Regions from separate parts of the Homo sapiens genome. Here regions 1, 2, 3, 4, 6 and 7 are each linked to region 5. The links are contacts of gene promoters, found by promoter capture Hi-C in blood cells and fetal thymus (Javierre and others, 2016). All regions are on one chromosome and are shown on one strand. The core of a region is centred on a gene start or on the middle of the fragment in contact, and the rest is flanking DNA. Distances in the headings are between cores, read along the strand shown.

Region 1 (3,930 bases), core at 288-2,787, 1.0 Mb after region 5:
AAAGTTCATTTGCTGGAAACTTAGTACCCAATGGAATAGTGTTCAGAGGTGGGGCCTAACAAGAGGTGATTAGGCCATAAGGGCTCTGCCCCCATAAATGAATTAATGTCATTATCTTGGAAATGAGTTAGTTATTGAGAGAGTGGGTTTGTTGTAAAAGTGAGTTCAGCTCCCTATTGCTGTCTTGCTCTTTTGTACCCCTTGCCCTTCTGCCTTCTGCCATGGGATGACACAGAAAAAATGCCCTCACTAGATGTGGGATTCTCAACCTTGGAATTCCTACCCTCCAGAATTTAAGAATACATTTCCTTTATTTACAAGTTAGTTGTTCTGTGGTATTCTGGTATAGCAACACAAAGGGGAGTAAGACAGGTAATGCTGGGGTTGAGCCTAGTAAGGTAGGTGGGGTCAGTTATAATGGACCCTCTAACCGAAAAGGAAACATAAGCCATTTTTAAGACAAAGAATGATATGATCAAAATATTTTTACAAGGACAATTCTAACATCAGTGGAAACGATAATCTGGAGATTAGAGACAGAAAGGCTAATTTGGACTATATGGGGGGAAAGAGCTGTTGAGAAGCTACCCTTTAAACTGAAACACAGGAACTCTATTGAATATCAGATTATAGTGTTTAAAAAAGGACATAGGTTAAATAGTTCTGTTCTTACCTGAGGAACAGTTGATAGGAGCAAAATGGTTTAGTGGGACTAGAATACAAGCAGGCAACTCTTTTCCTGTTGAAACATCTAACCTATCCTGTGCCACTCATTGAAATATTGCCCCACCCCACCTCCAACCTGCATCTAGACAATGAACTGAGAAAATAACAATAATAATAATAAAGAAAACAAGGAAAACTGCTTGTACATTTCTAGCTTGGAACTAGCATTATCTTTCCCTCTCCTGTGGACTAATTCAGAGAATTCCTTTTTAACCAGAGTTGAAGACCCAGACCAACCAACTGTTAAGGACCAGGACGCTCCTACCCCATCTGGAGTTCGTCAAAGGGACTATGGGAATCAACCTCAAGTAAGCGAGAATGAGTATGAAGAGAGCGACAGACCCTCTTGGAATACAGGAGTTTGAAAAGACTTAAAAGAACTTTGTGAAGGCAGCTATAACTTCCATGAGGGCAGTGACCATTGTCTGTACATCCACTGTACTCCAATCCTAGCACAATGCGTGGCACATAACGTGCCCACCACAGATGTTTAGTGAACAAAATAGCGACTGGCTGAAGGAAATGATGTGGAAGGGAAAAGTTAAAACCAAGAAAACGGTCGGTGGGGGAGCTACTGGCATGTTTCATGGGAAGGGGTAGAAAAAGAAAAATGTCAGGTTTAGCACAGCATTTCCAACAAATAGACAAAATTCTACCTAAGGGACAAAGAAGGACTGTTCTCAGGGTATCTAGGGACTTGGAGACCGTTTTCCTGAAGCGCCACCTGAAGCGCACCCTGAGGCAGCCAGGCCCCGCCTTGCCCGCAGTGAGCCTCCCGCCCAGCCGCGCCGGCCTGAGGGGGGCGCCTCCGAACGCGCGGGCGCACGCTGAGAGCCGGGAGGACCAGGTGAGGGGGCCTCCGTCTTCCGAAGACAGGTACGGTTCTCCACGCCTCGGGGAGGGAGGGCAGCCCGAGAGCAGCCGGCACCACTTCGCAGGCTGGGCTGGGCGTGGGCCGAGCTCGGGCCAGTCCTCAGGCAGGTGTTGGTTGCGCTGGCCGTGGCGGGTGCCGGCGCAAGACTGACGCCGAGAGAGGCTCCGAAATCGCTGTCGGAGTCATCCCTCCGCATACTGTTCTGGGCGGCCAGGCCTGCGCGGAGTCTGGGCCCGGAGCTTCCTCCGCGGGGCCCCCAGGCCCGAGGGCCGGGCTGCTGATCCGCCAGGCACGGTAGGCGCCATGCCGAGGGACCACGGAGGCTTCAGGGAGCCACGAGAATTTTTTTTCTTCTGGTTTTGCTTTGTTTTTGAGACGGAGTTTCACCCTTGTTGCCCAAGCTGGAGTGCAATGGCGTGATCTCGGCTCACTGCAACCTCCGCCTCCCGGGTTCAAGTGATTCTCCGCCTCAGCTTCTCGAGTAAGCTGGAATTACAGGCTCCCGCCACCACGCCTGGCTAATTTTTTTATATTTTTAGTAGAGACATGGTTTCCCTATGTTGGCCAGGCTGCTCTCGAACTCCTGACCTCGTGATCCGCCCGCCTCGGCCTCCTAAAGTGCTGCGATTACAGGCGTGAGCCACCGTGCCCGGCCACGAGAATGTTTTCATTTCGTTTAAAGTGAACCCATGAAGTCAAAGAAAGTGTTTTGATTTTTTTCTCACATCAGGAGGGGGAAATGAGATTTTTAGGGCCTACAAAATCCATTAACTTCTTTTAATCTTTTTTTAATGGAGGAAGGGGTCCACGAAGACGAAAGTGCCTTAGGGCCCACGAAATCTTTAATAGGGCCCTGCCAGAGGGAGAACCATTGAATCGTTTATCACGCGACAAAGTGAATGAGGGCTTGTAAAGGGGCCCTAACCTAGAATGCTCAGCACGGAACAGAACATCCGCAGAGGCAGACACAGCGAGAAGCCGATCTGTGAGAGGTGGATCTCCCGGGGTGCGGGCAGGGGAGGGCCTAGTGTGAGGATGGAGAGTTGGGCAGAAGGCACAAGCAGAACTTTAGGGCCAGGGTAAAGATATTGGATTCTGTTTCCAGTGGTGTAATTGGAAGTCCTTGGAGGGTTTTTAGTTTGGGCATAACTTGGTGGTTTGGAGTGGTTCAAGGCCCAGTTCCAGTTTTAACCAGTTTGCAGGGAGAATTCATTAAGCGAGTGTTCTTGGCAAAAGTGGAGAGTATAGGGTCAGAATAAGGTCAGAGCCTGTTTAGTACTATGCCCAGACACATCAGATGCATGAATTGATGATGTTTGAGGATGTAAGGAAGAGAGCTGCCTCTTACCTCATTTAAAATACAGTCTTCCAATTGCACATTAGTGTGGGATTGAAAAATGACTGCAAGCTGAAACCATTCAAAGAGATCTTAAACACCAATGGGAAAAATTACAGTTGTTCTATAACCTTGAAAAATTGTCAAAACACTAAAACTTTCTTACTAACTGTATAGGGAAATGTAAAACAGTAAAACTATTTCATACACTAACTTAAAACATTAGAAACATTGAGAGCTAAAGTGTTTTATTTGTTGAAAAAAAACTCTCATAGTAAAACTTATGAGAGAGCAAACATTTTTTGTGTGTCTTGGCAAACTGACATACTTCTTTCTAAGTTTGGGTTAGTTTCCTACATTTTATCCTTTGTACCTTCAATTTTGTAAAATATCTCTGAAAGTTTCTTTAATAATGAAGCTTTTTGCCAGTGGCCCTTTCTGTAGGATGTCTTCATCCTTTTCATCACAATGACTTTCCTCAAGTATGTTGATAAGTTTGCCTTCACTAAATTCCTCTGGCTGCTTCTCTAGAGTCTATCAGGTGGAGGCAGTGTCAACACTCTCATAGTCAGCTGTTTCTCCTTTAACTCCACTTATGTTAGATTCAGATTTCACTCCTGGCATTATCATTTTTTATTTCTTTGCTGCTCCTTTTATCGGCTAGTTTCCTCTTTCAGTTTTTGTTTTTATAAAACATCACATGGGCTTATCACTAGGAGACAAGGAGGCGACACAACTACACACTTCTGTCTGTGCTTTAACTGACTAATGGATCTGCAGTGACGGGTCACCAACAGACTTTGAAAGAAGTGATATAATTAATTACTGATCATGATGCACTGATCACTATATTATATCAGTACGCTATATCAGTATACTATACTATTGATACTGATAACTAGTAATTCGTGAACTAAAGAGCTAGATACTACTTTATGTAATTACAGTTAATATTCCATGGTAACTGAAATTTGAACTGTGTTGTTGGAAGACT
Region 2 (3,493 bases), core at 968-3,467, 940 kb after region 5:
AAGAGGTGGTTTGGTCATGAGGCCTCTGCCTTCATGAACGGATTAATGCTGTTATGTTTCCCAGATAAAACAGGGTTCCTGATAAAAGGGTGATTTTGATCTTCTTACTTCTCTCTCTCTTTTTCTCCTTCTCGCTCTTTTCCACCCCGTCACACATATACACACATGCCCTCTTACCTTTCCACCTTCTGCCATGGGATGACACAGCAAGAAGGCCCTCACCAGATGTGAACCCCTCAACCTTGGACTTTCCTGCCTCCAGAACTGAAAGAAATAAATCTCTTTATAAATATTTTTTAAATAGCCAAATGCTGAACAAAACCGTTCAAAAACAGTAGATTACATACTGTATTATAATGGAGTGCTTTAACATGTGCAATATAGGCATATAATATATACTGGTTTTACAAACTATTTCCATTATTTTGTATTCAGCTTGCTTGTAAAATAACTTTTTCTATCTTGAACATCAGAGAGTAGCAAAAAACTGACTGAAACTGCCTAGAAAATTACATTAGGCTAAATTATAATGTTTTAATATAGCTAGGCAATCTCCCTTTTATTCCTGAATGACATTTTCACTGAATTAGGATTCTGGGCTGACAGTTCTTTTCATTCAGGACTTGAAAAATGTGTGATGCCTCCCTCTGGCCTCCACAGTTTCTGATGAAAAATTTCTGTCATTCAAATTATTTTCCCTCTCTGTGCAAGGTGTCATTTCTCTCATTCTGTCTTGTCTTAGTTTTACAGAAGTTTGATTATGATGTGCTTTGTCATGGATTTCTTTTCAGTTTATTCTGTTTGAGGTTCATTAGCTTCTTGAATTATGCAATCACAGCTCACCGCAACCTCTGCCATCTGGACTCAAGCCAACCTCCCACCTCATCCTCCTGAGTTAGCTGGGACTATAGGCACGCACCACCACACCAGCTCTTTTTGTGTTTTTTGTAGAGACAGGAATTTGTCATGTTTCCCAGGCTGGTCTCAAACTCCTGGGCTCAAGCGATCCTCTTACCTCAGCACCCCAAAGTGCTGGTATTAATGGGGTGAACCACCGCACCCAGCCTATTTGGCTCCTCTTTATGTCTTGTGTTTTCCTGCTGAGACATTCTATTTTTAAATTTGTTTTAAGCATGTTTATAACTACTCATTGAAGCATTTTTATAATGGTTTCTTTAAAATTTTTGTCAACATCTGTGTCATCTCAACATTGGCATTTGTTGTCTTTTCTCATTCAAGTTGAGATTTTCCTGGTTCTTGACATGATGAGTGATTTTCTATTAATTCCTGGGCTTTGGGGGAATTATATAAGACATTATATCTTATTTAAATTTTCTGTTTTAGCAGGCCCTGTCTGACACTGTGCCAGTCAGGAAAGGGGACTGCTGCTTCATAATTGCCAGGTGGTTGTGTAAGTCCACAGTCCTCACTTGGCCTCTGTGGACACTCCACTGGGGTAGAGTGTCTCATTACAGCTGGTGAGGGTGAGAGTTCCAGGTCCCCACATGGCCTTCACTGACATAATCACTGAGGAGAAGGTCATTACAGGGCACATCACCCCAGCAAGGAAGGGTTGGGGTGCCTCATCACAGCTGAGTGAGGGGAAAAGCCTAGGCTCCTTTTTAATATGGGTCATATTTTTCTACTTCTTCTCATACCTGGTAATTTTTGCTTAGATACTAGACATTGTAAATGTACTTTGCTGGGTGTTAAATATTTTTGGATTCCTATATATATTTTTGAACTTTGCTCTGGGATAAGTTAAACTACTTGGAAACAGTTGGATCCTCAGGTTTTGATTTTATGATTTTTTTTTTCAAGGGTGCTGAGAAGTGCTCAGTCTAGGGTTATTTATTGCCCACTTCTGAGGCAAGGACCTTCTGTACAAACTACTGAGTGCCCCAGGAATCATGGGACTTTCCAATCTGGCAGGTGGGAACTGGCACTGTTCTCAGCCCTGAGTGAGCACTGAGCAGCGCTGCTTCTAATCCTCGCAGATGGTTTCCTCACACACATGTGCTGATTGGTACTTAGTTGAACCGATCTTGAGGAGACCCCTGAGGATCTCCTGGGCTCTCTCTGTGCACCTCTCTCCTCTCCATCATCTATCCTGCAAACTCTAGTTGCTTTGGTCTCCCCATACTCTTATCTCTGTTTCCTCAACTCAGAGCATTTTCCAGGCTCCATCTGGGTTCCACCTTCCTGAACTGTGCCCTAGGAACTTCTTCAGGGCTGTAAGCTGGAGCAATTGTAAAACTCTCCTCAACTCCCAGGAATCACTGTCATTTGTCACCTGATGTCCATGTCTTGAAAACCATTCCTTCATATATCTTTATTGTGTTTGTTGTTGTTGTTGTTATTGTTTCAGGCAAGAGGGCAAATCTGAACCTATTACTCCACTTTGGCCAGAAGCAGAAGTCTTCAAGAGAAATTGTTAACCTTTTTAAAAAAAAAAAAAACTTTCATAAAAGCTGCAAGAATACAATGAACATTTACATACCTTTAACCTAGATTTACCAGTCGTTAATATTTTGCCTCATTTGTTTTATTTCTCTCTAGATAGTTGGATAGATGGATAGATAGATAAATAGATAATCTGCACACATGCACACATTATTATTGGTTTTGCCTAGCCATTTAAGAATAGGTTGCTGACATCATGCTCCTTAACCCCAAATACTTCAGCATCTGTCTTTTAAGAACAAGGATCTTTTTATATAACTACAGTATAATTAACAAATTTGGAAAATTTAGCATTGATAACAAACTATTATACAATATATAGCCTACATTCAAATTTTGCCAATGTACTTTATAGTAATTTTTTCCAACCCAGAATCCAATCTAGGATCATGAAATGCATTTGTCAGATACATATTTTTAAAATATATTTTAAAATATAACCCATATGACTTCCTAGTTAGTTAAATGCAGGTAGCAGAAGGGTGAGATCCAGCCTTGTTCTGCTTCCAGGTAGCAGAGGAGAGGGAGTGGCCTACCAGGGATCCTGCTTGGTCACTGCCTCTGAAGCCTACTACCTAATCCCTGCAGTTAGGGTGTCTCCTCTCCTCATTTGGCTCTTTGATGAGTGTGAAGTGAAAATGCTCACTCACTGAGAAGTGCTCAATGGAGTATAAAAACTAATAGAAATGAGATGAAGAGATTTCAAACAAATAGGCAAACTCAGAAGTGAAAATCAATGACACAAAAGTGGTAATGCTATAAAATAAATAAATGCAAAGAGATTAACCGTGAAATATGAATCAACAAACCTCGTGCAGACAACCTTGTCCAGTACTGCCTGTGTCAGAAACTTCCCCACGTCTACTCCAGACAACCCATCTGTCCCTACTCTTCCTCCTTGCCACTGCACCCACATTCTTTGGCCTTCGGGAAAAGCTCTAGCCTCAATTGCTGATTCCTGAAATCTGACATCAAGTTCACATCAGATCTCACTCCCTGATTATGCAGCCAGATCTCCCCTCTATGCATC
Region 3 (3,781 bases), core at 929-3,428, 960 kb after region 5:
TTGCCTGTGTTGAGACATGATTATAGAGTGATCTCATTTTTTTCTTCATCATTGGCACTGAGTGTCCTTGTCTGATGTTGGTGTTCTATGAAATCCTTTATGTTCAATAGGAAAACACTGAGGCCTGGCTATGAGTGCCAGGCCAGCTCCTGTCTGTCAGGAAACACTTTTCTCTTTCTTATTGTTTCCTCCTTTTTTGCTTAACAATGTGGACATTTTTTCAGGTCAATACTGAAGCTTATTTAACCAAATTTCACTTGTTGAATAATTGATTTTTTTCCCAACATTTTAGGCTTATAATTATTATAAAAATAAAAATCTTTAGAAGTATGTCTTTGCACACTTATACTGCTATTTCCTTAAAATAAATTTCTAAAAGTGTAATTACTGGATCAAATGATATATACACTTTAAAGTTTTCAATAGATATTACCAGAATGCCCTCCATAGAGTGTGTACTAATTTCATTTCCAACAATAGTATAGAATGCCCACTCTCCACAAATCCTTGTTTGGGGAGCACACAAGGTCACCAACCTTTTTTTCTTGTTTTTTCTGGTTCCATAGACAGAAAAACATCTTATTTTAAAGTGTTTTATTATGTAAAATTTGATATACACAAAAGACAAAATGAGGCATGTATATGTCTCACTAGACTACACTACATTAGACTGTCTCAGTAGCTTCAGGGGAGTCTGGTTAGGTGGTACAAATGCTTTGATTGGCATCCCAAACCTGTTTCTCAAGCTGCTAGTTAAGAAGAGAGGTCAGTAGAATGAGGTATCTTTGGGTTCCTCAGATTTGGAACACACCTTAACAATAGCGCCTTTCAAAGTGTGTTGCTGTCTGCTTACTCATCTGCCTATCCTTGAATTATGAGCTTTAAGGGGACAGGGACTATGTCTTATTCACTTTTGTGTCTCCAGAATCTAGCCCAGAACCTGACCTAAATAGACCTAAATTAATATTTAATGAACACCCCCCAATCTATTTTTTTAAATCAATTGATACATAAGTAGTTGGGGGTGATAAATTAGCTATAGATTTTCTATGTAAGAAACATACTTATACATAAAATTCAATTTGTCCAACTACTCCGTTGGAATAATTCCTACAGATTGGAACTGCCAGGGCAAAGTACATACAAGATCTAAATTTTGAGTAAATTTCCCAAAACTGGAGTAAATTTTCCCAGTGTTTAAGAGTTCCCTATTTCCTAAAATTCTATACAAATGTTAGATTTCTGTATTTGTGATCATTGATAATGTAATATTACAAAGAAACTGCTTTTTCATCTATTAATGTTAAGCTACATCATCTTCATATCACCTTATTAATCATGTGTATTATTTCATTTTCCTGTTTCTTTTATTTTCATTTCCCTTGTAATGTTAGCCTGTTACTGATTTCTAAAAGCTCATTTATGATTAAGAATGTTAACATTTTTTCAAGTATTGCAAATGAAATACCATGTTTTTCTCATTTATTTTAATGTGGTGTTTTAATTTTTGGTTGTACAGAAGTTACGTATTGAAATATGATCATGTTCTGTTTTATATATATGAAATGAACAATGAGTGAAGGAGGAAACACCACTCCACTCTAGGAAGGCAAGACCCAGTTCTCGGAAGTTGATCTGTAATGGGCACTATTTGGGTACTTTGTACACTGCAGGGGTTCTGAGCACAAGCTTTGGAATCCGAGAGACCTGGGTTTTAGTCACAACTCAGCTACAAACTAACTGTATGACCTGAGCAAGTTATTTCTCCTTCGAGCCTCAGTTTCACTGGCCGACAATGTGGCTAACACCACCAGTCTTTCTGAGATTGAGTTTGATGTAAAAAATGTTTAGCTCAATGCCCACATCATATCTAGTAGATGATTATATTTTAGGGCATTATTATTATTATTAAGGGCAACTATGATTAGGGAATTTATGCTTGCAAAGTGGTGTTGTGCCTTCCAGGGATACTTTGATTCTTTCACTCTGAAAGAAAGAGCAGAGAGGACCTACCTGTGGACAACCAGACACAAATTAGGGCCCAAAGCAAAGAAGGGTCCAGGATGGAGTTCGGAACACAGACAGGGAGAGGTCATTTGAGGTCTAGGAGAAGGACACCCTAAAGCTATCCCTTGAAAACCATGAGTCTATGAGCAGAGGATCCCAGGGGCTGCCACTTGGTACTGCAGAACCACAGGAGCTGGGAGCTAAGTGGCCTCCTACAGGAGTACTGACCAGTGGATGGTGTTGGCCTCTCAGCAGGACCTGCGTTCTTTCCATTACCCAGTGGGTCAGCTCGGCAATGGCCATATTCATTCACTCAATAAATATTGAGCATCTACTATGTGTCAGGCACTGTTCACTGTTCTAAGCACTGGGGATACAACAGTGAACAAAAAAGCCATAGTTCAGGCTTTCATGGAGTTTGCAATCTAACAAGAAGGAAAATAATTAAACTAAGCAAACAAGAAAATACAAATTGATGATATGCTATGCTGAGAATTAAAATAGGAGGATGTGATAGGAAGTAACTGGGAGCTACTTTATACAGAGTAATCAGGGTGGGCCTCTTTATGGAGGCAATGTTTAAGATAAAGCCTGACTGACCAGAAGGACTTGCAAAGATCAGGGGAAACAACTAGTTCTCCCTAGTTGGGAACAAGCTTGGTGTATCTAGAAAGCTGAATGAAGGTTGGTGTGGCTGTTGCTCCTGAGTGAGGGGAAAGTAAAAATAGTTTAGATAGATGGACAGAGGTCCTAACATGTGAGGCTCTGTAAATCAGAACAGAGGATTTGGATTTCATTCTAATTGTAACGGGAAGTGATAGGAAGGTTTTCATTTGGAAGGAACAACATTATCTTTAGTTTTCTTTTCTTCTTTTTTTTTTAAATTATACTTTAAGTTCTAGGGTGCATGTTGGTTTGCTGCACCCATCAACTCATCATTTTTACATTAGGTATTTCTCCTAATGTTATTCCACCCTCAGCCCCCCACCCTCCAACAGGCCCCAGTGTGTGATGTTCCCCGCCCTGTGTCCATGTGTTGTCATTGTTCAACTCCCATTTATGAGTGAGAACATGCAGTGTTTGGTTTTCTGTCCTTGTGATAGTTTGCTCAGAATGATGGTTTCCAGCTTCATCCAGATCTCTGCAAAGGACATGAATTCATTCTTTTTACGGCTGCATAGTATTCCATGGTGTATATGTGCCACATTTTCTTAATCCAGTCTATCACTGATGGACATTTGGGTTGGTTCCAAGTCTTTGCTATTGTGAATAGTGCCACAATAAACATACGTGTGCACGTGTCTTTATAGTAGCATGATTTATAATCCTTTGGGTATATACCCAGTAATGGGATGGCTGGGTCAAATGGTACTTCTAATTCTAGATCCTTGAGGAATCCCCACACTGTCCTCCACAATGGTGGAACTAATTTACACTACCACTAACACTGTAAAAGTGTTCCTATTTCTTGGCCGGGCATGGTGGCTCACGCCTGTAATCCCAGCACTTTGGGAGGCCGAGGCGGGCAGATCACGAGGTCAGGAGATTGAGACCATCCTGACTAACACGGTGAAACCCCGTCTCTACTAAAAATACAAAAAATTAGCCGGGCGTGGTGGTAGGCGCCTGTAGTCCCAGCTACTCGGGAGGCTAAGCCAGGAGAATGGTGTGAACCCGGAAGGCAGAGTTTGCAGTGAGCTGAGATCACGCCACTGCACTCCTGCCTGGGTGACACAGCAAGACTCTGTCTCAAAAAAAAAAAAGAAAAAAAAAG
Region 4 (3,882 bases), core at 610-3,109, 800 kb after region 5:
CCTACAATATCTGGGAACCAAGGTGCTCCTGAGGAGGCCTGGGCCTCCCCAACAAGGACATTTGAGGCTCCCCAGGAGGAAAAAGGGTGCAGCTTCAGCCTGACACTAGACAAGGCCCCTTTCTTTTCAGTGAAGTGTCAGACAAATCTCTAGCCATCTCCAGTGACCCTAGTTCAAGGGTAACTCTGACCACCCTGGAGGCTTCCCACTCCAGATCCAATGAGACACTGACTGGCCCAGGAATGCTACATTACAACTTTCACATCTCAGGGCTAATGTGCAAAGTCTGGGGCTACCCAGACCAGAAGCCAATGCGAGGCCACATCCAGGAAAAGCCTGAGATGTCCTCATGGGCAACTGTAATAATGGCAAGCCCTCACGTGGCTCCTGCTTTGTGCCAGATCCTATTCTCCGGGTTTGCTCCCATTAGTTCATTTCATCCTTAGAACAGCCCTCTGAGGTAGGAAGTGCCAGCATCTCTATTCTACAGAGAGGGGAAGTCACACAGACACGAGGGGCCACGTTTGGCTTGATAGAGAAGTTTGGCTGGTCTGTGCTCTTGTCCACTCTGCTAGATGACTGCCCCCTGCCTGCCTGGATACAGCAGGGTCTATACAGGTCAAACAGCATTGCAGGGAATGCAGGCTGTCCATATCCATTAAAAGGCCATCTTCTATTCCAGTCACCTCCCAATGCAGACATGAACAGCACGCAGTGGAGAGTGAGGCACACAGAGGTGACTGAGCAGGTCTGGGGCAGCAGACATGTCTCTGAACATTGTCATGAGGGTGACACCTGACAAAGACACTCTCACCTCACTACTTTCCCAAAGAGAAGAGAGGCCCAGAAGCTTCTTGGTGCCCCCGCCCCACCTCCACCCTCTATGGAAGGCTTCAGGTGTTTGCAAAGGGCACAGGAGTTCCTGCACTGAGGAGCTGAGCCTGTTCCACCTCATTAAATGGTCCTATCATCATGTCCAGAAGCATGAGGTTATGCACACAAAAAAGCAAATTCTACGACAGCCAATCTTAGTTTATCTTCGATGTTTAAACTGTTTCAAGACATGTTGGAAATCCAGTCAGACACTTCTCATCCTCAACCCTTGAAGAATCGAGTTAAACAGTCACCCTTTATCCACGTTGCCTTTTGCCCCATAGATAACCATCTTCCACATGTTCAATGACAGATGAAAACAGTAATGGGGTGATGGTTACAGCGGCTAAGCATTCCTCAAGCATTTCTCACCTGTCAGGCACTTCCGGCTTTCCTGACCTGTTCTCCATTGTCTTCGTAAAACTTCTGCACCTCCGTTTTATAGATCACTTGGGTAATGAGGGGCAGAGATGGGATTCCACAGAGGTCTGTCTGGCCCCACTGCCAGGCCGTCAGGACAGCCACCCTCGCCTGTCCTGTGGGCCCCTCTTAGTGTGGATGGGCACTCCCAGCCTGCCCTGTGGTTTCTTGGATGACCCTGGGACCTTATTTTCCTCTCCATCACATGAGGAGACTAAGAGAGAAGATATGAAACAGCTGTGGATATGAAACAGTGAAAAATGTCCAGGCCAGTAGCTTGGCCCAAACTTCCCCTCTTTCACATCAGAGCTCTTTGAACTCTCAAAACTTGAGAACAGATGGCACCAGGGCATGATGATGTGTCCACTCAGCTTATTAGGGCCACTCAGGAAGGGATAATTAATAATCACTTAATGCCACAGTTTCCTAAACACACCAGTGGAGCCCACCCAGCCCTGGTAGGCACTGCTGTGTTGGTAGCCAAGGGAAGCAGAAGTCAGAAACAAGAAGCAGCCACCATACAAAGATGATTTTCCTGGATTGAGAAGGAGATGAATGCAATTTTCAGAATCTTGCCAACTTTCACCCACAGTGCCATCAGTGGGAGGGAGCACCAGGCCCAAAGTCAAAGGAGAAAGCCAAGCAGGTGATAGCAGATGTACACACAGCAGTGGGACTGCAGCTGAAAAGTATTCATCCATAGAAAGGAAAGGCCCTTAGGGTAACTAGTTCGAAAATCCCACTAAACATAGTATTCGAATTTATCTAGTTTGTCTCTCTCCACCCAATTGATAGTCATGTGGCCTAGGTTTGAATACTTCCAAGCCTGAGAGGCTCGCTATTTCTCTAAATTCCATTTTTGAACAGCTCTACTTGTTTCAAAGAGTTTCCTCAATCAAAGATAAATCTGCTTTCTGATACTTCTGCCTAATCTCCATTCTGTCACTTGTGATAAGAGTTTCCAAACTTGCTGCACATCAGAATCACATGAGGAGCTTTTAAAGAAAACAGTAAGAATTCCAAGGATCCATTCCAGACTAACCAAATGACACCTCTAAGGCTGGGGCTCAAACACCTTCCCCTCTCCTCTGGGAGGTTTCCAATATGCCAATAACGTGATCGTGGTTGGCCCTGTTCTGATCAACACTGCATATCACTTTTCTGCCTGGAATCTTTGAGAGTCGGTGGTTAAGATATTAGGCCAGGTGTGACCCTGTGAAGTAATCCTGTGTTGATCCAGCCTGCTGGGAGTTGGGAAGACAAACTCTGCATTTGTTTTTAAGAGATGTAAGTTTCTGGATACTATCAAAGCAGACTCATTCAGGTCAACCCTTGATTTGTAGCTGGTGGTGGTGAAAGGAGTGCTCTGGCATCAGAAACACCAGTATGCAAATCCTAGTGGTAGCGTTCGTACAGGTGTGCGACATTAGAGGACTCTTCATCTGAACCCCAGCTTCCTTGCCACAAAACAGGATGAATAGCCCCACATGACAGAGTCATTAGCATAACTGTGGGGACAAAAGAGTTCTCTATCACCCCCCCTTTCCTTCCACCCCTTCTTTCTTCTAAAGCTTCTCTCCACCCAGGGTCACCTTCAGGCAATCACAGACATTTCTCAACCCTCCTTAGTCACAAAGCAGAGGCTGTTTCCCCAAACTATTCCTTCTCTTTCTGTGATGGGCATGGACAAGGCTGCTTCTCTTTAAATCTCTATCTGGGAGAGGAGGAAAGGAGGAGGGGGCATTCCAGGCTGGGGAATCGGAGGCAGGCCAGAGCAAAGCCTGGCTGAAGAACGGGTTACCTTCCCGTCTGCCTGCCAAGCTGCCAGCCCAGGAAGCGAGGGCGTGTTAGACAGAGATAGCACTGTTAGTTGATATTTCTTCAGCAAGGGTTAGATCAGAGCTTCCTCATTGGGTAATTTTGGTCAGTTTCAGTTTTTCCCATAACATACCAGTCTGACATGCCCACTTCCTCTACAGAATTGGGGTTGGTGTCAGGGGAAGCCCTAAAGACAAATTAACCCCATACTCTCTAGGAAATAAGATAATACCCAAAATGGGAAGCCATTAACACCCATCCCCTTAAGTACCTGCATTTTCCTCCAGACCAGCACTTAAAAAAGGAGAGGAAATTGTGTCACTGTCACAAAGCAACAAATGGAGAGAACAAAAGGGGACATTCATGGAGGCTCCACTTCGAAGTATGCAGTGTGCAGGGTGGGCCATACACAGTCCTGGCCAGGTATGGGGAAGCCCAGGAAGGAAAGGCCTGGAGGTGACTGCAAGAAAGGGATCTCAGAGAAACCAGGCCCATCGGGGAGCAGCCTCGACCCAGGTCACACAGTTGAAACTAGAATCTGGATCACCTGGATGAATGTCAACCCTTCTGGCCCAGAAGCGCCCATCTCATTCTGCAGGCCCAATGCAACTGAAAGACTGGTGCCACTGCCTGGATCCTGAGCCCACCCCATCTGGTCCCTGTGGGAACCTGGCCTTGATCAAATTATTTACATCCAGAAGACAGCAATATTCCAATTTTGACAGTTTTTATATGAAGTACTACAGATCCTACCTTGAGTAAGGTACTCAA
Region 5 (3,542 bases), core at 310-2,809:
TTGTCTCCTTGTACATACACGTTAGGAGTTTAAGTTGTGTGCTTTCTGAGTGAGAAGGTATACACAACTTAAACTTAGTAAATTCTGTCAAATTGTTCTCTAGAGCATATAATTTACATTCCTATTTAAGTGAATTCTATTAAATGCCACTGTTTAAAAGAGATATTCCATTTCTACCCTCAAAAGCAAAGTTTTATGAAGAAATATTTTCTGAATCTCTTAGTTCTCTAACTCCAAGTTTACTTCTATTTAAATCCGTGGAATATTTTAAATGTTAAAAAAAGAAAAGAAAAAAAAAAGCCAGGCGTGGTACCAGTAGTTCCAGCTACTCTGGAGCCTGAGGCGGGAGGATCACTTGAGCCCAGAAATTTGAGGCTGCAGTGAGCTAAAATCACCACTGCACTCCAGCCTGGGAGACTGAGAGAGACTCTGTCTAAAAAAAATTTAAAAAATAAAAAAATTAAAAATCCCAGAAGTAATCCAATCAATAATCTACAGCCCTTTCAAAAAGCCTATAATCATATCAGGTTTTTCCTCTGAAAACTGGCTTTTTAAAAAGGTTGCTACATAGCTCTCTTTTCAGACCTTAAGTCCTTTAAATTTACATGTACCTCCAAGATTACCACCATTCATATAAGTTTTTATTCACACTATTTTGATGAGTAAGTTTCAGACACAATTTAGTGGCCAGTTTTACTGTGCTTTGTCTGCCAAAACTTCCAACCTAAACCATAGCAAATTTTTTAAGTTGGCCAATCGATTCCTATCCAGGGTTAAGGGTCTTTTGAGAGAAAAGAAGAGCTCTTGGACGTAAACAGGTATAAACAGGATATACCTCAGAGAAAAACTCTGGTACAGGACAAATACCACAGAGAAAAGAGTTTAAAATATGGGGAACCCCTACTTGAAGTTCTGACTCAATAAAACTGCAAAGAAGTTCAATGCTGGCTTGGGGAGAAGTGAGAAAGAAAGAACAGTGTGGTGCGCTGGCTCTTGAATCCTACACACCTGCTCGTGCAGGGGGAGGTGCAGCCCCCACCTTAGAGCCGGGACCTCGAACGCGAACGCGCTCACGCGCGCACCGACCCCAGTTGCCGGCCTAGCGCCAGGGCAGTGCCTCACCTGCGTTCCGGTTCCACGGGGCGGTGCTTGTCCACGATGACCGGTTTCGGCGGCGGTTGGAACGCACCGGGCTCGGAAGGCCCAGTGCTCTGCTGCCGGACAGGCCCCGCGTGGACCCCTGCGGGAGCGGACGACGGAGGTCAGAACTCTCGTGCCAACCCTGAGATCCCGCAGAGCCCCGCAATCTCCCCCAACCCGGCGTCCCACGGGGGACCAACGCTGGGGTTGCCTCTGATCTCCAGGTTCGCCTCCCCCATCCTGACCCTGGGCCCCTAACGCGCCCCAGCTCGCAAGTCCGGCTCCACTTACTGCAGGCGATAGAGGCCGGCGGGGGGAGCAGAGTCCTGGCGGCTTGGAAACTCCGGCCTAGGCCCATTGCAGCCCAGTGCCCCGCTGCAATGCAGGCCGCCATGCCAGCTAGCTCACGTCAAGACTACAGCTCCCAGTAATCAGTGCGACGAGGTTGTTGCTGTCTGCCACCATATGGCGGCTGCTATGGGACAAAATGGATAAGTCTCTCCTCGCTCCTTTCCTGATGTCTTAGGAAAAGTGCACGTTTCTCTAGTTCCTCGTAATGCGCCAAGTTACACCCCTCCACAGGGGTGTTCTCCCAGCCTAGAAAGCTTTTTCCTCCCCCTATGAATCCACTCTATCTTCTCAGACAAGCTTTCGCTATGCGAAAATCCCATTGTAGGCCGTCTTTCCCACTGGGTGCCTTCGATTGGCAGCTCTGATCTCATTTGCAATTCTTTCTTGTGTAATTATTAGATTAGTATTTAAATCTGCCATTATACTATAATGAGGCAAGGGAAGGGATAAAGTCTTCTTTTTGCTCACCATGTTATCCCAGCACCTAGCACCTACCTGGGCCCTCACTAACATCTTTTGTTTTGTTGAGACAAGGTCTTCCTCTGTTACCCAGGCTGGAGTGCAGTGGCGCGATCATGGCTCTGCAGCCTCCAACTCCTGATGTCAGGAGATCCTCTCACCTCAGCCTCCCGAGTAGCCAAGACTACAGTCTCGCACCATCACGCCCAGCTAATTTTTCTAATTCTTTGCTGAATGCACAGAAAAGAGAATAGAATAGTTCCTGACAGAACTGCTGGCCCATAGTCCTTGAGACTACACAAAGCATTAACCCTTTGAGGAACCCAAATGAATTTGGGCTGGGCAACTGTGGGTATGGATAGGTGGGAGAAGTAAAGCTGGAAAAGGTAAATTGTAAGTCTTGTTAAGAAATTTGGAAAATGACTGGGCGTGGCCAGGCATGCCTGTAATCCCAGCACTGTGGGAGGCCGAGACAGGAGGGTCCCTTGAGCTCATGAGTTGGAAACCAGCCTGGGCAATATAGTGAGACCGTATCTCTAAGAAACAAACACACAGCCGGGCGCAGTGGCTCACGCCTTTAACCCCAGCATTTTGGGAGGCCGAGGCGGGCAGATCGCCTGAGGTCAGGAGTTTGAGACTAGCCTGGCCAACATAGTGAAACCCCGTTTCTACCAAAAATAAAAAAAATGATCCAGGTGTGGTGGCAGGCTCCTGTAATCCCAGCTACTTGGGAGGCTAAGGCAGGAGAATCGCTTGAACCTGGGAGACAGAGGTTGCAGTGAGCCGAGATCGCGCCATTGCAACAAGAGCGAAACTCCGTCTCAAAAAAACAGAAAAAGAAACACACACAAAAAAAGAAATTTGGAATTTGTTATTTCAGCAGTGGTTATATAAGGATTGAACACTTAGAGTAATGTGATAATTTAACTACATAATAGTCATTCCAGTTGCATTAATGTCCCAAAGCTACCTCAAATTCAGCCTATCCATACTGAGTTCATCTTTTTCAGCTCCAGACTTCCTTCCCAGTATTGGCTATCTCAAGGAATGGCTTCAGCATCCACTCTCTTGCCTAAGCCAAAAATCTCAGTGCCATTCTTGATTCCTCCCTGTCTCCTCCTGGATGAAGTTCCAAAAACTATGCCTGACACCGTCAAATATCTCAGGAATCCATATACTTTCTCATCCTCCCATCCATATTTCCAATCTAGGTCAACATATTTTCTCTCTTCAGGATCCCTGGAGATCCCTGCAACAGCCTTCTCATTAGTCTTCTTGCCTCTGGTTACCTCCAGTCCTTCACGCAGCAACCAAAAAAAGATGGCTCAGAAATGCATACCCTGTTCTTTCCTTTCCCCAGTTTAAAGCCTTACTGTTTACTTTTGACAGAAGTCAAATGCTCATAAAAGCAACCAACCTCTGCAGCTTGGCCTCTATACTCTGACTTGCCATCCTGAAGAACATGAGCTGTTACATCAGCCTGAGGAACAGGGCCATGTTTTGAGCACAGAATTCAAGATGCTGTGAAGAAAGACAGGGCCTTCTATTTTAACTCTAGCTTCTTTGATTAGAACAAGAATTTATTCTATAAA
Region 6 (3,715 bases), core at 1,041-3,540, 950 kb before region 5:
ATGGAGAAGTTCAATCACAAAACAGGTACTGTATGATTTCAGTTTAGTGGTGGTGCATGAGGCAGATTTGGATGTCTAATAAACATTCCAAATTTGATGTCACTGAGATAGCAGTGGAGTTGGTTTTCAATATCCATTCTCCATTCTTACTATAGTAATTGAAACCTTGAATTTTAGTTGGTCACTGGCTGCACAGCTAAAGACTGCAGCCTCCCAGGTAACTATTAGTTGTGTCTCTGTGACTAGGTTATGGACATGGGTACACATGTGGAAGCAACGTGTACAGATTCCAAGTCACCACTTTAAAGGAAAGGAGCATGCTGCTTCTTTTTCTCCATCTTGCTTCCTCGTATTTGGTTGTGTTCTTAAGACATCTTCAATGAGGGCAGAGCAAAAATAAATTCTGGTTCCCCAAGGCTTTGAAGCTTCCATTTAAGCCTCCAAATGGTCATGGTTAAACTTTTACAGTAGAAGGTATGCTAGTTATCAATTTATTGCCCCTTAGCTTCAAGTTGTCTTTTCTATGATGAAGAATTTGGACCCTGTAAATATTCCTTCTTTGACAGCCAGGACAATGTAAACTATCAGTAGATGGCGCTAGAGGGACACTTGAAGAGGACAACTTACTTTCTGGTTTTGATGTGTTGCTCTGGCCAGGCTCCTGCACTGCACTGTGTCTAGCAGCAACTAGCGGCCAAGAGCTTCCTAAGCACCTCAAATTGTGTACTTTTAGTAAGTCAGGTATGATCCTAAGATTCCTACCACTGAGAAGGGTTCCCTGATTTCAATGGAGTTGATGAAATCCAGGAGTAGCAGAGGCCAGGCTTAACCACAAAATACAAGAGGGGTATGTCTACTGGAAAGGGAAGCAGGCACATAGCAGTAATCAGAGTGCTTTGGCCTGGAGAGTTATTTGGCAGTTGCTAGTTGATCATGGTGTCTTTACTAATGAAGTAGTTGGACAGCCCTCTGGGGTATTTCTTGAACAATAGAACAGGAAAATAAAAACTCTAGATTTGGTGGCAAAAAAAAAAAAAAAAACTGACCTGAATAATCACAATATTGAATCCCAGCTTCTAATTCAGCTGTCTGATATGGTTTGGCTCTGTGTCCCGATGCAAATTTCATCTTGTAGTTCCCATAAGTCCCATGTTTTGCCTCCATTTTACGTATTTGTTTACTACTCAAACAGAGAAAAGCTTCATAAAAGCAGCAACTTTGTTTTATAAACCACTGAATTCCTAGCATCTACATTAAAGTTTCTACACATCAGCACTAGTGACATTTGGGGATGGATAATTTTTTGATGTGAGAGGATGTCTTGTTATTGTAGGATGTTCTGTACTATCCCCGGCCTCTACACACTAGGTATCAGTAGGCAAAAACTTATCCAGATATTTGCAAATGTCCTATGAAGGCAAAGGTGCCCTGGTTGAGAGCTGCTGATCTAGATTGAACAGAGGTAGCTCTTAATAATGAATGAATTAATTAATTAAAAATATGTACTTACATGCAGAAACAAGATTAGGATAATATATATGGATCTGTTAGTTGTGGGCCACTAATTGTGCATGTGTGCTTTTTGAATTTTGTAAATTTACCTCAGGATTGTTTTACAACTTTCACAGAAAAAATAAAGCCAATTAAATCTTGGAAAAATCAGCTTTGGGCTTCCGTTCTCAGTTCCTCCAGTCTATGTTTAACTCCTCTCTGCCATTAAGGATACTTGGGCTGAAAATTTTGTTTTTGAACTGAAGTAGACAATATGACCTTCTTCCTTTGCTTTCAAAAAGTTCTTCTCATCCCATATGATAGTTTTTCTCAGTTACTCTTATTCCCCAGGAGAAGGTTACAGAAAACTCTATCTGAAAAGTATATGACCACTGTTTCTACTGTTAATGGTTATTAAAAGCCAAAGGTAACTTGGCAAAAATAATTTAACAAGCCAACCTAGTCATTAATATTCACAGAACTAGAGTCCTTTGGCCTTCTTAATGTGAAATCTCAATCATGCAAAATGCAGAATACAGCAATGAGGTGATTAATCTGAACATTATCAGAAGCTAAAATAGATAATGGATAAAATTGAAAGTGGTATCAGTCATTCTTCACTTTCCTTTAGAAATATGAATTAGTCATGAAGGCCATAAAGTGAGTGCCTTGGTCAGAGGCAATGCTGTGTGGAATACCATGATGGTGAATAAGGCATTCCGTGAGTTCATGGATGGTAGTCTTGGCAGAAGCATTGCATGCAGGACAGGCAAACCCATATCCAGAGTAAGTGTCTATTCCAGTGAGGACAAACCTCTGCCCTTTCCTTGATGGAAGAGGTCCAATATAATCAACCTTCCACCAGGTAGCTGGCTGATCGCCCTGAGGAATGGTGCCATATCGAAGGCTCATTGTTGGTCTCTGCTGCTGGCAAATTGGGCACTCAGCAGTACCTGTAGCCAGGTCAGCCTTAGTGAGTGGAAGTCATGTTGCTAGGCCCAGATATAACCTGAATCCCTGCCATGATGGCCACTTTGTTCATAGGCTCATTGGGTGATGACAGGGGTGGCTGGGGAAAGAGGCTGAGTGGTGTCCACAGAATGGGTCATTCTATCCACTTGATTATTAAAATCCTCCTGCCACTGACACCACAAGCACTATTGCATCTGCTGGGTCATATGGCCCAAGTTGCAGAGCAGCTTGAACAGCAGCCTGGACCTGTTGCAGAGCCTTCTCCTGTTCTGGATCACATTCGAAACTGGCAGCCTTTTGGGTCACTAGATAAACGGGCCGGAGTAACACACCCAAATGAGGAATGTGTTGCCTCCAAAATCCAAACAGGGCCACTGGGTGCTGTGCCTCTTTCTTGGTTGTAGGAGGGAGCAAATGCAGCAACTTATCCTTCACCTTAGAAGGACTATCTCGACAAGCCCCACACCACTGGACCCCTAGACATTTTACTAAGGTAGAAGGTCCCTGAATTTTAGTCTGATTAATTTCCTATACTCTGGCACACAAATATCTCACCAATAAGTCCAGTGTGTCTGCTACTTCTTGCTCACTGGATCCAATCAGCATAATGTCATCAATGTAACCAACCAGTGTGATATCTGGTGGAAGCAAAAAGCGATCAAGTTCTCTCCAAATAAGATTATGACACAAAGCCAGAGAGTTGATATACCACTGAGGTAGGAAAGCAAAGATATATTGCTGGCCTTGCCAACTGAAGGCAAATTGCTTCTGTGGGCCTTATGGACAGCAATGGAGAAAAAGCCATTTGCCAAGTGAATGGCTAGATACCAGGTATCAGGAGATGTGTCAATTTGCTCATGCAATGAAACCACATCTGGTACAGCAGCTGCAATAGGAATCACTACATGGTTAAGCTTATGATAATCCACTGTCATTCCCCAAGATCCATCTGTCTTCTGCACAGGCTAAATGGGAGAGTTGAATGAGGATGTGGTGGGAATCACCACCCCTGCATCCTTCAAGTCGTTGATGGTGGCACTAATCTCGCAGTCCCTCCAGGGATTCTACATTGTTTTATTTTATTATATATGTATAAAATATATATTTTTTTAAATAGATTTACTATTTACTATGGCTTCCATTTAGCCTTTCCCACCATAATGATCCTTACCCTACCAGTCAGGGAGCCAGTGTGGGGGTCTTTCAGCTGCTCAGTATGTCCATGCTAATTATGCATTCTGGCACTGGGGAA
Region 7 (3,848 bases), core at 239-2,738, 810 kb after region 5:
ATCCCCACCCCCATACCCCGAGGCGGGGAATGAGAGCTTCCCGGCTTGGCCTGAGGCTCTTTCTTATGTAAATGACCCGGCCGCGGTGAGCGCTCAGCCATAGGGAGCTGCGGAGCCAGGTGGGAACAGACAGGTCGAGGCTTAAGGAAAAAAAAGCTCGTTTTCGGAAGGACATAAATCTCAAGAATCTCAAGTAATCCAGGAACGCGGCGCGTTGGCCTCTCCGAGTAACTTTTAGGGCAAACCAGAAAGTAACAACCAAAGTCCTCCCCTTACTCAGAGGCAGATCCTGAGGACACGAGGCTGGGCGGTCCCGAGGCTGATTTGGAGGGGCGGGGGTTAATGGGGGACGCCCCTCGCCGAGCCTCAGTTCCGGGCGCCACAGTTCCGGGGAGGGGGCGCGGCGGGCGGAGTTCCTCTGCCCCTTTCCTACTCCTTCCCGGGTCAGCTTCTCCTCGAGCCCACCCCCGCAGGGCCGCGGGGAAGGAGAAGGGAACCGCTCGTCTCCTACACGCGGTCCGCGAGCGCGGACGGCCCCCGGCGGCCCCACGCGGCAGCGGAGCAGCCTCCCGCAGCCACGATTCTCTCCACGTGCTCTCGCCGGAACTCGCGCTGCAGAAGGGGGCTCCCTCCCACGTGGGCGCAGCAATCCCTGACTACCTGCGGGGTGACCCGCCCCTCCAGTAACAGGGAAAAAGGGACTGGGGGAGAGAGCGTGAGCGCGTGCCGGAGCTCAGGGAGGGAGGGCGCCCGGCGGAGCGCGACCTCGGCTCCCCGCCCGCGCGCACTCGCCGGCTGTGCTTAGCGGACGTGGCTCCTGGCGCCCAGGAGTGTCCCGGCTGCCCAAACTTTTTCCGCTCCCAGGCCCGGAGTAGGGAGGAAGCGGGTCCCCGCAGGGTCGAGGAAGAGACTGATGGAGGCCAGACCACTTTGCCAGAGCCCAGCCTGCCGCCCCGCCCGCGCTGACTTACCTTCTGCACTTGGTCATGGTTGAGCTCCGTGAAGAAGTAGGCAAGCAGATGCGAGGCAATCATCCTGCCGCGGCCCGACGGCGCAGAGTTGGGAAACCGAGGCGGAGACGCGAGAGGGGAGGCGGGCGGCGCGGTCCGACTGCTTTGTGCTGGGGCTCGGCTGCCGGGCCGGGAGCTGGGAGTCCGGACGGCGCACAAAGAAGGCTACCGGCGAGGGTGCGCCCGGCTGGCGGAGGGCGCGGGTCTCCGGAGACGTGATTTTGGCGTCACAACTGCTAGAAGGCGCCTCAGTTCTCTCCTGGCGACGTGTCCGGTTGTCCCACGTCAAGGCGCTAACTTCGGCCACAGGATCACTGAGGCTCAACTTGAGAAGAATCTCAGCCCGGCTCCACTCGGGCAGTGGGACCTCTCCGATTCACAGGCGCGTGGCTCGGGCCCGCGGATTTTCTTAGCTGGGTGACACGATGTTGCCAGCGGCAGCCCGGGACTCCTGCGCCGGAGTTTCATGCAACAATGTGGCTTATTGAGGGGCTGCCGGCCCGCGGGCCTCCGGATCAGTGACGTGCGCACGCCCATTGGCTGCGCGGGGAGGGTGTGTGCGCCCACGGACCGCCCGCCGCCGTGGCGCAGCCAATCATCGCTCACGGCTCGCGGGCGCGGCCGCTCAGACACCGGAGCCGGCAGCCTGGGGAGGCGCGCCGGGGGCGGGGGGCGGGGGAGGGGCGGGGCGCCTGAGATGGGACGTGTGGTCCGTGGCTAAAGGCTGGGACGGAAAGGCGCATGAGCCACCGCCGCGTCAGGCTCGGCTATGGGTGGGGGGAGCGTGATCGCGGACCCGGGGTGTGGGGCGACTGGAAAAACGGGCCTCTGGACCAGCACACGCCCTGTGCGGAGAGACACTGTCTGGCATCTCGGGATCATGTGAGGGGCTCCCACTGCCCAGTCACACGTCTAAAGCATCCTAGTTCTTACCTATTGTAGCACGGCCGGAAAGTGAGCCGCCTTAGCTGCTGATTGTACTAGAGCAGGCAATACAAGAGTCGGCCCATCCTCAAAACCACTGATAGGATGTGAGTTTCACTAACCCCGTTTTACAGATGAGGAAATTGAGGCAAGGCCAGGGCTCACACCTGTAATCCCAGCACTTTGGGAGTCCAAGGTTGGAGGGTTGCTTGAGACCAGGAGTTCATGACCAGCCTGGGCGACATAGTGAGACCCCCATCTTCCCAAATAAAAATAAATAAATCAGCCGGACATGGTGGCATGTGCCTGTAGTCCCTGCTGCTCAGAAGGCTAAGGTGGAAGGATAGCTTGAGCCCAGGAGTTCGAGGCTGCAGTGAGCTATGATCATACCACTGTACTCCAGCCTAGGTGACAGAGGGAGACCCTGTCTCAAAAAGAAAAGAGACTTACACGAGGTCACATAGCTAATAAGTGGCAGATAGGGAAGAGAACCCTTGTCCCTCTACTTTAAGGCCCTATTCGCTTGCCCCATTATCCCATGCTGCCTCTCTAAGAGCCAGAGAAGTAGGAGGTAGAAAAAGAGCATCTCTGCAGCTCTGGGACTGATGATGTGAATGAACTGGGTAGATGGTAAGTGTGTAACTGGGTGATCTTGGACATGGGATGGGGTGGGTGAGGAGGCTTACCAATGCTGAGAGGAGTGGAAGCTCCAACCCCAGCTAATGCTAGACACCAGACTCCAAATTTAAACACACAGTGGAAACTGGCAAGAATGAAATACTGACTTCAATACAGATTTCAAGAGACATGACATTAGCACTGGTGGAGAATGGCAAGCCTAAGGTTGGAAAAGGTTCAGGGAAGGAAGATGAAGGTCTGCCATGTTCTACTGAGGAGGAGTTTTTCAAACAGTGGGGTGCTGTCTGCAATGTGTACAGCCTTAAAATTATTATATAAGTAATCAATACTCATTGTTGAAAAATAATATATGGATAAACAGGAAAAATAAACAAAAATCATAATCCATCTAGCCTCTCAGCAAAACTTCCTTTTTTTTTTTTTTAAAGCAGGGACTCGATATGTTGCCCAGGCTGGTCTTGAACTCCTGGGCTCAAGCAGTCCTCCCACTTCAGCGTCCCAAATAGCTGGGATTACAGATGTGCTCAGCAAAACTTCTTGAGAACTATGTACCCTTCTAAATGCACGTCCTCAACCCTCCTTCCCTATACTCCACACAGAATTGAGCTCAAACTGCTTTTGTCATAGTCATCATAATGACCTACATGTTGCCAAATCTTGCATTCTCTTCTCTTCCCTGCCCTTGTCTTACTCCTTCTCTCAGGGATGTTGAGGACAGTTAATCACATCCTCCATCTGGACACACCTTCCTCTCTCAGTAAGAGCACCAGTGCTCCACTCTGAGGGTTTCTGGCTAACCTCACTCCCCAGGCTCCTGAGTCCCTGTTTGCTCTATTGGTAAATGCTGGGGTATTCGGGGCTGCCCTCCACCCTCTTCTCTGAACTAGTTACAGTTTCAAACTCCCTGAGGAGAAACTAACTTCCTAGCCCCATGACTGTTATATCATATGCATGCTGATGACTCACCATAGTAAATCTACAGCGAGGTCCTCTCCTGGAGTTGCAGGCTTATTTCTCCAGCTTGCCATTTGTCATCTCCACTGAAGTGACTAGCATATCACACTTAACATGTCCAAAGCTGAACTCAACTTTTTTTCCCAAATCTTTTTCTTTCCCAGTTGTCTCAGCAAATGGCATCGCCATCCACCCTAACTCGTCTTCGATTCCTTCTTGCCACTCACCCTCACAGCCAGTCAATCCATCAGCAAGCAGTTAATTCCACCTATAAAACAGACCGTGCATCTGACCACTTATCTCCATGCCCTTAGACACCTC

What was found. The method cuts DNA at HindIII sites, captures the fragments that hold promoters and counts their contacts. A CHiCAGO score of 5 or more calls a contact.
Region 1: a contact is called between the fragment with the promoter of M1AP here and the fragment with the promoter of MRPL19 in region 5, in 2 of 17 cell types (activated CD4 T cells and naive CD4 T cells). The highest score is 6.4, in activated CD4 T cells.
Region 2: a fragment that was not itself captured here is called in contact with the fragment with the promoter of MRPL19 in region 5 in 2 of 17 cell types (M1 macrophages and naive CD4 T cells); the score reaches 5.5 in M1 macrophages.
Region 3: a fragment that was not itself captured here is called in contact with the fragment with the promoter of MRPL19 in region 5 in 1 of 17 cell types (M0 macrophages); the score reaches 5.9 in M0 macrophages.
Region 4: a fragment that was not itself captured here is called in contact with the fragment with the promoter of MRPL19 in region 5 in 8 of 17 cell types (non-activated CD4 T cells, naive CD8 T cells, total B cells and 5 more); the score reaches 15.0 in non-activated CD4 T cells.
Region 6: a contact is called between a fragment that was not itself captured here and the fragment with the promoter of MRPL19 in region 5, in 3 of 17 cell types (M1 macrophages, M0 macrophages and megakaryocytes). The highest score is 5.2, in M1 macrophages.
Region 7: a contact is called between the fragment with the promoter of HK2 here and the fragment with the promoter of MRPL19 in region 5, in 2 of 17 cell types (naive CD8 T cells and activated CD4 T cells). The highest score is 7.6, in naive CD8 T cells.

Annotation. Positions count from the first base shown.
Region 1 is chr2:74,645,937-74,649,866 of GRCh38, reverse strand. M1AP (meiosis 1 associated protein) reads left to right here and starts at 1,537. Exons shown (of 11, transcript NM_001321739.2): 1 at 1,537-1,602. The HindIII fragment of the contact is 10,572 bases long and covers 1-3,356 here.
Region 2 is chr2:74,706,457-74,709,949 of GRCh38, reverse strand. It overlaps a transcript of SEMA4F not described here. Among named protein-coding and RNA genes, the nearest start is that of SEMA4F, 54 kb to the right of the region's middle. The HindIII fragment of the contact is 4,799 bases long and covers 1-3,493 here.
Region 3 is chr2:74,686,095-74,689,875 of GRCh38, reverse strand. It overlaps a transcript of SEMA4F not described here. Among named protein-coding and RNA genes, the nearest start is that of SEMA4F, 34 kb to the right of the region's middle. The HindIII fragment of the contact is 974 bases long and covers 1,692-2,665 here.
Region 4 is chr2:74,848,662-74,852,543 of GRCh38, reverse strand. The region is part of intron 1 of HK2 (hexokinase 2); the gene reads right to left. Among named protein-coding and RNA genes, the nearest start is that of HK2, 16 kb to the right of the region's middle. RefSeq lists an enhancer at 2,449-2,588. The HindIII fragment of the contact is 2,014 bases long and covers 853-2,866 here.
Region 5 is chr2:75,644,800-75,648,341 of GRCh38, reverse strand. It overlaps MRPL19 (mitochondrial ribosomal protein L19), which reads right to left and starts at 1,559. Exons shown (of 6, transcript NM_014763.4): 1 at 1,432-1,559; 2 at 1,123-1,240. The coding sequence starts at 1,534. RefSeq lists enhancers at 1,330-1,629, 1,465-1,759. The HindIII fragment of the contact is 2,636 bases long and covers 1-1,747 here.
Region 6 is chr2:76,596,841-76,600,555 of GRCh38, reverse strand. No RefSeq gene overlaps it. Among named protein-coding and RNA genes, the nearest start is that of LRRTM4-AS1, 390 kb to the left of the region's middle. The HindIII fragment of the contact is 2,178 bases long and covers 1,202-3,379 here.
Region 7 is chr2:74,831,767-74,835,614 of GRCh38, reverse strand. HK2 (hexokinase 2) reads right to left here and starts at 1,488. Exons shown (of 18, transcript NM_000189.5): 1 at 972-1,488. The coding sequence starts at 1,034. HK2-DT (HK2 divergent transcript) reads left to right here and starts at 1,628. Exons shown (of 1, transcript NR_185897.1): 1 at 1,628-2,960. RefSeq lists enhancers at 47-116, 1-770 and silencers at 347-596, 1,517-1,746, 1,927-1,996. The HindIII fragment of the contact is 22,379 bases long and covers 1-3,848 here.